Regions from separate parts of the Homo sapiens genome. Here region 2 is linked to region 1. The links are contacts of gene promoters, found by promoter capture Hi-C in blood cells and fetal thymus (Javierre and others, 2016). All regions are on one chromosome and are shown on one strand. Each heading gives the region's core, a stretch centred on a gene start or on the middle of the fragment in contact. The rest is flanking DNA. Distances are from core to core; before and after follow the strand shown.

What was found. The method cuts DNA at HindIII sites, captures the fragments that hold promoters and counts their contacts. A CHiCAGO score of 5 or more calls a contact.
Region 2: the fragment with the promoter of PRDM13 here is called in contact with the fragment with the promoter of CCNC in region 1 in 6 of 17 cell types (naive CD8 T cells, monocytes, activated CD4 T cells and 3 more); the score reaches 7.5 in naive CD8 T cells.

The regions. Positions count from the first base shown.
Region 1 is chr6:99,564,780-99,570,620 of GRCh38, reverse strand. It overlaps CCNC (cyclin C), which reads left to right and starts at 1,961. Exons shown (of 12, transcript NM_005190.4): 1 at 1,961-2,125. The coding sequence starts at 2,094. It also overlaps the pseudogene TSTD3. RefSeq lists enhancers at 1,604-1,653, 1,774-2,063, 2,184-2,263. The HindIII fragment of the contact is 11,578 bases long and covers 1-3,164 here.
Region 2 is chr6:99,605,583-99,611,432 of GRCh38, reverse strand. PRDM13 (PR/SET domain 13) reads right to left here and starts at 4,600. Exons shown (of 4, transcript NM_021620.4): 1 at 4,255-4,600; 2 at 2,561-2,692; 3 at 2,126-2,246. The coding sequence starts at 4,398. The HindIII fragment of the contact is 6,161 bases long and covers 3,209-5,850 here.

The DNA.
Region 1 (5,841 bases), core at 712-3,211:
ACAAATGCATTTCACATCTTGACTGTGTGTGTATATGTGTGTTTGTGTATGTATATACACACATATATAACTGAACCAAATTTAAATATAATATCCTTGCTATTTCTGATTTACCTAGTATTTTCTGTTCTATTTAGGAAAATGATTATACTTAATTTTACCACACCCTAATTGGTCTCCACCTACAATGTGAAAAATACTGTCTTAAGTTGCCTCAGATGCTGACTGTCTATAAACAAGTTTCTGGAGTGTCCAATTATTTAGAAAAATAATTATAAGTTTTACAATAAATGCATTGCTACAATGAAAATGAAATGGAAAATACAAAATATTTCGTCTTGTAAAATTAAATTATGGCTTTTTTTGCAGTATGTTTCTATTAGGTGCATACATGTACATACATGTGCATACATATATGCATGAATATTTTTAGATGTTCTGCAAAACTGTTGATTCCGCTGCTCTGTAAGTTTGCACTTTATCACTCCAAAATAACTCCATTAAGATCGCGGCCGAGATCTCGCCACTGCACTCCAGCCTGGGCGACAGAGCGAGACTCCGTCTCAAAAAAAAAAAAAAAAAAGATCGCGGCCGGGCGCGGTTGCTCACGCCTGTAATCCCAGCACTTTGGGAGGCCGAGGTGGGCGGATCACGAGGTCAGGAAATGGAGACCATCCTGGCCAACATGGTGAAACCCTGTCTCTACTAAAAATACAAAAATTAGCTGGGCGTGGTGGTGTGAGCCTGTAGTCCCAGCTACTTGGGAGGCTGAGGCAGGAGAATCGCTTGAACCTGGGAGGCAGAGGTTGCAATGAGCCTAGATAGCGCCACTGCACTCCAACCTGGGCGACAGAGCAAGACTCCGTCTCAAAAAAAAAAAAAAAAAAAAACCGCCTGATCCAGGCCGGGCCTGGTAGCCCACGCCTGTTAATCCCAGCATTTTGGGAGGCTGAGGCTGACGGATCACCTGAGGTTAGGAGTTCCAGACCAGCCTAGCGAAATCCCCTCTCCACTAAAAATACAAAGATTAGATGGACGTGGTGGCACGCGCCTGTAATCCCTGTAATCCCAGCTACCTGGGAGGCTGAGGCAGCAGAATCATTTGAACTGGAAAGGCAGAGGTTGCTGTGAGCCGAGATTGTGCCACTGCATTCCATCCTGGGTGACAGACCCAGACTCCGTCTCAAAAGTAAAAAACAGGCAGGGTGCGGTGGCTTACGCCTGTAATCCCAGCACTTTGGGAGGTTGAGGAGGGCGGATCACGAGGTCAGGAGTTTGAGACTATCCTGGCCAACATGGTGAAACCCTATCTCTACTAAAAATACAAAAATTAGCTGGGCATGGTGGTGCGCGCCTGCAGTCCCAGCTACTCGGGAGGCTGAGGCAGGAGAATCGCTTGAACTCCTGGAGGCGGAGCTTGCAGTGAGCCGGGATCGTGCCACTGCACTCCAGCCTGGAGACAGAGCAAGACTCCGTCTCAAAATAAATAAATAAATAAAGTAAAAAAAAAAAAGGAACACTTGATCCCTGAGAACAAAGTCATCTTCATTTATTTCTCTTTCCAATCACAGGAAAAATAAGTCACAAAACCTTGTACTTTATTACAATGCCACATTGTTCTGTTTTTGAAGTCCTGGAAGAGGTAATAACAGAACCCCGTATCTGAGCCACTTCGCCTAGGTTAGACCCACTCAGCAACTCCCGTGCTGAAGACAGGAGACCGAGCGGCTTGGGCCCCCGGCCAGAATTCTCAAGACGCTCTCGCGAGAGCCTTCCAACCGCCGCGAGCTCTCGTGAACACTAGTTCTCTTCAATCTCAGCACCTCCAAGGGTCAGCACCTCCCCTCCGGCTCCCTCCGCTACCGCGGGCCGGAACTTTTGTCGATAGGAACGGGTTTGCACAGTTGAGTGTTGTCGGCCGGCGTGAAGGAGACTAGGGGGCCATCCTCTTCCTTTCGCCGTCGCCGCCGCGGAGCGGAGTCGAGCCGAGCTGATTTGATCGAGGAGCGCGGTTACCGGACGGGCTGGGTCTATGGTCGCTCCGCGGGCCGCTCCGCCGGCTGGTGCTTTTTTATCAGGGCAAGCTGTGTTCCATGGCAGGGAACTTTTGGCAGAGCTCCCACTAGTAAGCGATCTTCCGTCTTCTCACCTGGGGCCGGTTTTTGGGGGAGCTGTGAGGACGGGGCCTGTGACTCCCCTGGGCCTGGATCCCAGCTCAGTTCCGAGTGCCGGGGTCCTCACGGGAGACCGCAGCGGTCAGAATCAAGATGCGCTTTTCTGAGGCGACTCCCCTCCCCGCCCCCAGCCCCAGTTTCGGGGAGGGAAGGATCTGTGAGGGGGAGGGGTGGGAGAGAGTTTCGTCTCCCGGGAAGGAACGTTTCGGAGTTTAATTTCGGATTCTTGGTTTAGCTAGGCCGCGGGGGGTCGGATAGAGTGGGCACAGGTACGGGAAGTGTGACTCAGCTCAAGACTGTGAGGCTACCTGTTCAGGACAGTTGTGGCGTGCTTTTACCTGGGGTTTCTTCGGGTGATCGGCGTCGTGGTCTTTTGTCATTCACTGTATATCTTGAGTGGATTTAATATTATGAGGAGAGGAGAGAGTCTGGCTTGTTTCTGCCTACTAACCGCTTCTTGCGCGTACTTTATGTCTAGATGGAGTTTTATATTGATAAGGTATAGGGCAGGTGCCCTCTAAATTTATCCATTTCATTAGCCTGTGCTTTATATTTTGTTTTAAAGGCCTATTTTTCCAGTGACTTTGTTTACCTGTTTCTTTAACCTTTTTCATGAATAAGTTCTTGTTTCTGTCAGTGACCATGTGAGAGCTAGAATAATATTAAAAACATTTATCCCTAAATACATTTGTTTAAGCAGGCAGGAAGGTGCGTTATGGGGTAAATTGAACATTTGAGTAGGCTTTCCACTGTATAGTTGAAAGATGAACAGAATTTGACAAGGTATCTTGGTATAATTTTTTATGCTAAGAAAGCATTAGTAAGTAATTTAAATTTCGATTCTGTGAATAGGATCTGTTCCTGATGTTCATTTTTTAGCCCTTTGCAAAGAGAAAAAAAGAAACAATGAACTCAGTAACCTATTTAAGGAAAAGCAGGTTTTCCTCTTGCTATAAAGTGATTCTGTGGAGATGACATGTTAAAGAAGCTTTACCACTGATCATATGTGTGTGTGTGTATATATATGTGTGTGTGTGTATGTATATATATATGTGTGTGTATATATGTTGCATTGTTTTCACACACTGAAATATTGCTTGGGCAAAATTAAAGTATCGAAAGTTTAGGTATTGGAGTTAGAGCTCCTGAAAAAAAAAGTTTAGGTAGTGGAGAAGAGATATTCTGATAAACTCTGAAAGAAGCTGAGAGAATTGACAAGTAGCTGACTGTTGATTTTTCAGTTTTTCAACTTAAAAAAAAAAGATCCTGCCTTATTTTCAATAGTGTTCTCATTATGCTTTCATTTATTCATAGCATTCTAAAAATATGTTTTCACTTTTCAAATATAAAATTATTATAAAGTTAAGTGTACTTCTTTGAAACTATTCTTTTCTCCCAATTCAAATAGTCCTAAAAGAAGGGACCACTTTGCCTTGCTCAAATCCCTTGAGCAGTCATGGAGTTTCTTATCTGGAAAAGGTAACGAGTGTGGAAGACAAGACAATTCTGGAAAAACAAACGAAAAGATTATGAAAGGCCATTGTCTTAGGTGAATTTGGTGAAAGAGGGCAATTGATATTAAATATGCTATATTTCATGCTTCTAAGATGCACGTTTTCACACTTTAACATCTTTGAAATCAGCATGGCAGTTGCTTTCATAGCATATGAAATAATGATGAATCCTAGATGTAATCTTAAATTTGATGAAATGCAGTATTTATAAAGTTTTTTAGTTTATTCTCCATACAGAGTTCTGTGAGGAAAACTCATAAAATGTTTGTGAAATTTATCTTTTTAAAAACATAAAATGACTCTGTGGGGATGAAATTAATTAGCAAACCACAGTGTAGTTGAGGTAGAACAAAACACAGTCTGTGACCAAAATGAACTAGAAGGGCACTAAGTATTTGCTGGTTAATTGAATGCATTAATGAACAAGTAACAAAAATAAAAACTACAAAACTAACTGTGGATACTTTATTGGTATCCACAGGAAACTGAAAATACAGTTACTTACTATCTAGAAAATAACATCATAATAGTACCATATATGGAATGTAACCAAAGCTTGAATGTATTAGAAAATCAATATCCTGAATAATTGAGAGATAATAGAAATATTCTATTTAATAATATTAAGAAGGAAACATGAAATAAACCTAAAGAAACAGAAAGACTTAAAATAGATAACGATGCTAATATATTAAAAGGAAAAAAATTATAAAAGCTAATTCTTAGAGTAAATAAAAACAGTAGACCAAACTACTGCTAGTTAAATCAGGGGAAAAAGGAATGATACAAAAATACAAAATTAGGAATGAGAAAAGTAAACCCAGGGGTACTTTTGGGTTATCTCCAGGGTTTTAAATTTGAAAGCCAAAGCAAGTTAAGAGTATTACCCAAGAGCTATGTGTTATTTCATGGGTAAATACTTTCCATCTTTCAAGAGAATCTCCTTTTGAAATTGTTCCATTTCATACAGAAAGAAGAAAAGCTTTCTAATTCTCTTTATGAAGCCATGATAACACAGAAAAATCTAGCAAAGGGAACACTAAAAACAGTCTCACTTTTGAATATTAATGCAAACATTGTAAATGAATTATTACCAAATGCAGTCTAACATTACATTGAAAGTATAAAACATGACATTGGATTTTATTATAGAAATATAGTCAATATTAAGAAATCAAGCAGTAAAGGTATTAAAAAACTAATACAATTCAACATTTATCCTTGACTAAAGCTCTTACTAAAACAGAAATAGGATGCTTCCTTAACATGAAAAACATAAAGCATCAGCAGTGGTGAAACATTGAGATAATTAGGGTGCCTATTTAAGATTTTACCAATATGCTAGTCAATACAGTTGATACAAAGGAGATATAGAAAGAATGACAAAACAGGGACAAAATTATCAATACGTGGAAATAAAATTAATGAGAAAACTCAGTTAATTGAGAAGTTATTAGAAATAATAAAGGTTTAGGAAGGTGACCAGTTATAAAATGCAAAAATAAAAGCTTTTTAAAAATGGATAGAGAAGTATAATTTACATTAGCAACAGAAAATATACAGAGGGAAAAATATAAAGAAATATACAGAACCTGTAGGAAGAAAACTTTAAAAGTCCATAGTGGCACATACAGATTTTAATAGAGTTTGAATTCTTGGTAAGATGTCATTTCTCCCCATATTGATCTTTAAATGTAATGTAATCACAAAATTTGAATGGATATTCTTTTTTAGGACTCGACATAATGCTTCTAAAGTTTAGGTCTTAGAATAATTGTGATAGAATAGTCAGAAATTTTCAGAAGAATAGAAGGGAGTATTTTTCATATCACCTATTAATTACTTAATTTTCTATGTTTTAAAGTAGCACAGCATATGAAGAAGAAAAAAATAGGAAATTATAAAGAAGATCCAAGTATAATGATAGAATTATAAATCAGGAAATACCTTAGCACATTTGGATAAGCATTTGACAACATATTTAGCTGGATCCCTGCTTTATACTCTGTACCAAAATAAATTCCAGATGGATCATAAATTGAAGGAAAAAAGCTCTTAAGGGTATTAGAAAATATGGGTGAATTGTTTTTTATCGTTTTGAATCAGGAAAGGCCTTGCTATGCCTGACAAACATGAAAGTAAAAGGTAGATTT
Region 2 (5,850 bases), core at 3,351-5,850, 38 kb before region 1:
AGAGAGAATAGACCTCCTGGGTTCTCTTGGTGGGTATGTTGTCTTAAATAACTTCCTTCTAACTTCAGAGCCTTTCTCTCTCTCATCACCCCTTTTGAAAGAGGGAGTTTTCAGAGTCTGCCGCAGAATGACTCAGCTCAATGCAAAGCCACATAAGCTTTTTTCTTAAAATGAGGGGGCAGTATTTTCCTCCATCTTACTATGAAATTGAAACCCACTGAAGTTAGCTAGTATTAGGAGGATAGCAGCCATCCCTATTTATTTCTTCCTCTTTCCAAGCTTTAAGCAGCATACGTTTAATATATACTTTTTTTCAGTTATCCTAACTGACATATTCTCCAGACTCTGAGATCCAAATCATGCCAAGAGTATCAAATACATTTAACAAGTGACTGCCTCCTCTTCATGTAACTCTAAGGTGGTCAAGAGTTCAAACTTCTCCAAGCTGGGGAAGTCAGGGTTCAAAATCACCCATGCCTTCTCACCTCCAGAAAAAAAAAATGTTTATTTTGACATCTGTTACCATATGATGTTTATAAGCTCAATTGGCTGAAAGGAAAACACAAGGACCGCTATTCCAGTTGCTTTTGTACTATTTGGGACTACCTAAGAAAGGGTGTTCTCTGTAGAAATGGCTGGCTTCTAAAGGTTAGTGGCCCGCCAAATTCTATAGTGGCAGATTTGAGAGTTCTCCACTATGTGGCTTTTATTATACTTCTCTTTTTACTGGAAGAAGTTGACAAGAGAATGTAATATAATGTGATGCAAGGAACAAACTATTTTAGGATAATTTGAATACTATACCTACAAAATAAACAGAATTAACTTACAGAGGACGATGATACTTTAAAGTGATTCATTGTTTTGAATAAACTTCATTCTGTGTTATTCATGAAGTGTTTCCTAATTCACATACTTGTATTGATTTCTCTAAACCTATTTCTAAAGGGATGAGATTGAGCAGGCAATTCAGGAAGACAGCATGTTAGAATATTTCACAGCATTCATTATTTTGATGTTAAATGTGTCTTTAGGAGAAATTACAGACAATTGTCAAAGAAAAAAAGCCATGGAAGCTTTGTGTGTGAAAAGGAAGTCTCCAAAACCTCAACTATTCTAGCACCTCCTAGACTTCTTTCCACAGGAAGTGTTCTTCAGTGTTCAAGGGTAGGTTTAAAAATGTTTTTCTGTTTAGTTACTGCACCTTAATTTGCATAAATCCGCTCTTGGCTTTGAAGGGATCAAATAAATCTGAGAAGAAACTGGGATACATCCCAGATTCAACTTAAGTAGGCAAGGGGAAATGAATAAATGCCACTTAAATGGAAGGGTCTCAGTACCTGCCAACTGACCAGCTGTAAGTACCGTAATACTTCTAAAATGCTGTAGAAATGCACTGCTCTCCTGGAAAGCCAGTGGAGAAGAAATGTCCATGGACTTTGTAAAAGCATTCCAGGTTTGAGTTATACTCTGTGGAACTCATGATGTAATTACTGTAACAACAACTTAAGGCTCCTTTTTTATTTTTTATTTTTATTTATTTATTTTGAGACAGGGTCTCACTTGTCACCCAGGCTGGCATGCAGTGGTAACATTACGGCTCACTGGAACCTTGACCTCCTGGGCTCAAGTGATCCTCTTGCCTCAGCATCCTGAGTAGCTAAGACTACAGGCATGTACCGCCGCACCTGGCTAATTATTTTTTTGTTGTAGAGACAGAGGTCTCACTATGTTGCCCAGGCTGGTCTCGAACTCCTAGCCTCAAGTGATCCTCCTACCTCGGCCTCCCAAAGTGCTGGGATTACAGGTGTGAGCTACCGCGCCTAATTTTTTTTATTTTAATTGAGTAAATAATGGTCTGTTTGAATATGCAACAGAAAAAGGATGGCCCCATTAAGTTCATAGAGCCTACTTTTTCCCCTGCCATTGTGAGCCAGATTGCTACTATCACTGTTATCGTTTATGGTTGATTTTAAGGAGGTAGTGGCGACCTCTCTCCTCTTTGCCTTGAAATACAGGGAATGTGAATTCCATTTTACATAGATCGAGCTATGTCTAGGGACTCGCTTCAAGACAGGAGGAGGAGGGCTGGACTTTTGCCCATCCACGCTTTTGGAATGGGTACCTTTCTCGTCGTGAGTCGGAGTCGCTGTGGTGGGGATGTCGAACCACTGAGCCAAGGAGTTAGAATACCACACTGTCAGCTCCTCCCCTGGCTGGACGTCTCGCAATGCTCGGTAGAAGATCTGGGACGCAAGGAATAGAACAGTTCAATGTCATTTCCTGGGTAATCGGTCAAAAAGCAACTGAGAAGAAAGGTTCAAATCCGGATTCTGATGCTGTGTGACCCTGGAGAAGCTACTGGAGCTCTCTGAACCTCACTTCCGTCATCCTTCAAACGGAAAAACAATAGTAACTACCTTAAAGGGTTGTCGAGACGTTTAAATGAGACGTCTAGCTAAAGTACTTTGCTCTTAATATTTTTGGCCACCGCAGGGACGGTTAGGTAGACTGAATTGGCGGTGGGGAGTGGGGGGGTGTGGAGAGAAGCCCGCAGTACCTGTCCTCCGGGTAAGTCTGCAATAGCTTCCAGAGTCTGTTCCTGGGAGTTTCTGGCTGCCCGGATTAACCCTATCCACTCCAGAGGGGAGCCCCCCGACTCGTCCACCAGCTCCCCTCTCACCATGCGCACCTGCAACACAAGCAGTGGTCGTTCTCCCCCGCACCTTGGCCAGGCCCACAACCCAAACAGAAAGTTTATCCTCCACCCCAACCCAACACAGGAAAGTGGTTGTTTTTGGTTTGGCCAGACCACTATGGGCTACTGGGAGGAGGAGAATTCCTTAGGACCTTGCTTCGGGGAGGGAGAAAGAGGAAAGTCTACCTATGCTAACAGTACTCCCACTTCCCTGCGCCCCACCTTGACGACACGGGGAGGGGAGAGGGGTGTTGAGAGCATCCTCCCTGAGTGCTTAGGCACATCTTGTACCAAGTTGTCCCCTACCCCAGCTCTCCCATTTGCAGTTCTGAGAGCAGCCGTAACACCACGGTAGAGACATTTCTAGGTCAGTCCCAGGGCCCAGAGCGTACCCCCGACAAACAAACAAAAAAATTATCTCATGCCTCCTGTATTCTGTGTGCATCGCACCTAGTTGCCTGTGAGCCCTGCAGCTAAAGTCTCGGAACAAAGCCCAAGCGGGGAAAAGCTTGCCCGCAGCTGGCAGGCCATTTAAAAGCAATTAAAACGCGTTTAAAGAGGAATGCGCGGTGGGCACCAAACCCCGCTTTAGACTGTAGTGGGGGGCGTGATTGCAGGAGGAGCGAGGTGCAAGTCCCGCTGGCTGGACACCGGAGCTTTTTACTAGAAAGCTCCAAGCAAGGCAAGCTAAAGCCAAGGAAGCCAAAGTCCTTTCTTCTACCCCAGACTTCTGCCTTCATTTCCCGGTCGCTGTTTGCCGACCTTTGGCTCCTGGGACGCCCCCAAAGCGGGCGAGTGCTATAAGTCTCTCTGGTCAGGGGTCGCGACGGTGTGTGGAGTGTGGGAGTCAAAGCTAGTGGTTTGGCCCTGGCGCCTCCCGGTTGGGCCTCTGGACTCTCAGAGCCCCGCTGCAGACGCTCTGACCCTGTGCCCCGCGCGAATGGGCGCGCCTCGCCCTTGGAGCCCGCGTCAGAGCCAGTACCTTGCTCATCCTCTCTCCATATGCCGCATACCCACAAGCCGACATCGGCAAGGGAAAAAAAAATATCTGAGGAGGTTCTAGGAACTGAGAGCCTCCCAAAGATTTTTTTTTTCAGGAAAAAAAATTACTTTAAGGCGAAATTAGGCCTCAAATTAACATATTGAAGGGCAGAAGGGAAGAAAGGGTCTCGATGCCCTGAGCCCCCAGAAAGAGGGTGCTTTTGCAGAGAGAGCTGCGGACAGCGTGCGGGGGTGGGCTTCTGGCTTCTGACTGAGGAGACCCGAGAGCGCAGGGGAAAACACAAGCTGCGAATGGTCCCGGCACCTACAGCGCTCAGTGCACCCCACCCAGGGCTGTCGCCTCTCGGCCACATCCTCTCCTCTCAGCCCGACCCCGTCCAGCTCTCACAGTTAAAGAGGCTACTTGCTCAGAATAATAGGAGTCCCCTTCCACCCGGCAGAATTAGCAGGTAACGACTCAATCACTCCCTTCCTCCACTTTCTCTCGTACCCCTTTCCCGGGTCAGGGCACTGAGAGGCGAATGGCAGTGGGCAGAGGTCTGAATGGTCAATACCTTTTTCTTAGGCCCGGGCTCCCTGCGGTCTGACAGGTACTTGCCCAGCTTGAAGGTACCAGGCACCGGTCCGAGGCGCAAGCCGGCCGGGATGCAGCAGTCGGCACTCACGCTGGTGGCTGGCGCTCTGGCGGCTCCGTGCATTGTTGCCGCCGCCACCAGGCAGGCGCTCGGGTGCTCCAGGTCCTTGGAAGGGCGCGAGTGACAGAGCTGGAGCTGCGCGCTAGCCAGAGAGCCGCGCCCCGACGTGCGTCCTCCGCCCGCGGAGTGACGCGGGCGGGCATGCACTGCGCCTTTTCAATCGGGGCGGGAGCCTTTTGGCACCGCTAGCGCAAGGGCGCGGAGTTTGGTGAGAGAGTTGCGCTGCGAAGCAGCTGCAGAGTCCCACCCGAGAGGGTCACATGGAGTGGTTCCCTCAGCCCCCTGCATAATCGAGGCCGCTGAATGGCTAGCACACAATGGTCCAGGCGACCTTCCCATTCCTAAAAATCCAATTTGTCAAGGGCGAAGAAAAGGCACTGGTGAATCAAAGGTCCGGCGGGACCATTAATCCTCAGCATGGGGTATTGTCCTCCAGACAGTTACGATATTTTAAGTGACAAATCCACTGTATAATTTCTCCATAAATTTTACTTCCTTTTATTGTTCCCCGACAAACCAGTTTTGGGAAATAAGTGACTACTTTAAGTCTACTTGGCTGATTCCTTTGAGCCTTGATCTACTTCAAAGATTTTTAATTCTCTCCCCTTGGCTTTATTGTAAAGGAGATTAAACAAAGAGATGGAGACTGTTTGGAGGACTTGTTAACTACTATTGATTTCTGGCGTGTGCCATACAGAAATTAGGCAGGTACTTGATGGGAAAACACCAGAAAATACCTACACTTTTTAAATAACAACCATATTACCATTTCAGGGGATTGGGTTCAGGCCAGTCGTCTATTCAGAACCGCTTTAATTCTCACTTCTGTCCCATTTCGTCCGAAAATATGATGAAGCCTCCAGACCAAGTTGAGAAGGGGAGGTCAACTGCTCATCACTTTTCTCGGGCACACCCCGGGCCTGCACTTTCTCTGGAGAATGGGAAACAGCCCCAGAACCAACAGTTTCGAATGGGGATCCTGCGCCCCGGTCCGCAGCCCAGGGTTGAAGAGGAAGAAGTTCTACCAGTGGGTTATTGATCACGTCCCCTAGAAGATGTCCTTGGACTAACTTCCCTAAAACCAGCAACCTGGACTTTTCTATTAAAAAAAAAACAGTAAACAAAAACGAAAATCACCGCAATCTGTTAAAGGTTGTAGAGAAGAGGGGCGAGGTGGGCGTTTGGGACAACTCTTTCTTACACCTACTTTGTGAACTAACAAGACGTTGTACTTCAGAGTTAAACCGGAGAGCTACCCGTTTTCTTTTAGGGAAGCCTCCAATTGGCGTGAGAACATTTATTTTCATAAATAGTAGCCAAGTAATCAAGTTCATCAGATATTTGTGATTTCTGCCGGCACCTGCCGCGTGCTGCTAGTTCTGAGCACAGCTCCCCAAATCCTATGCAGCCAGCACCGGAGCCCGATGCAGTTCTTCCAAGAGAGGCCTGAGTGGT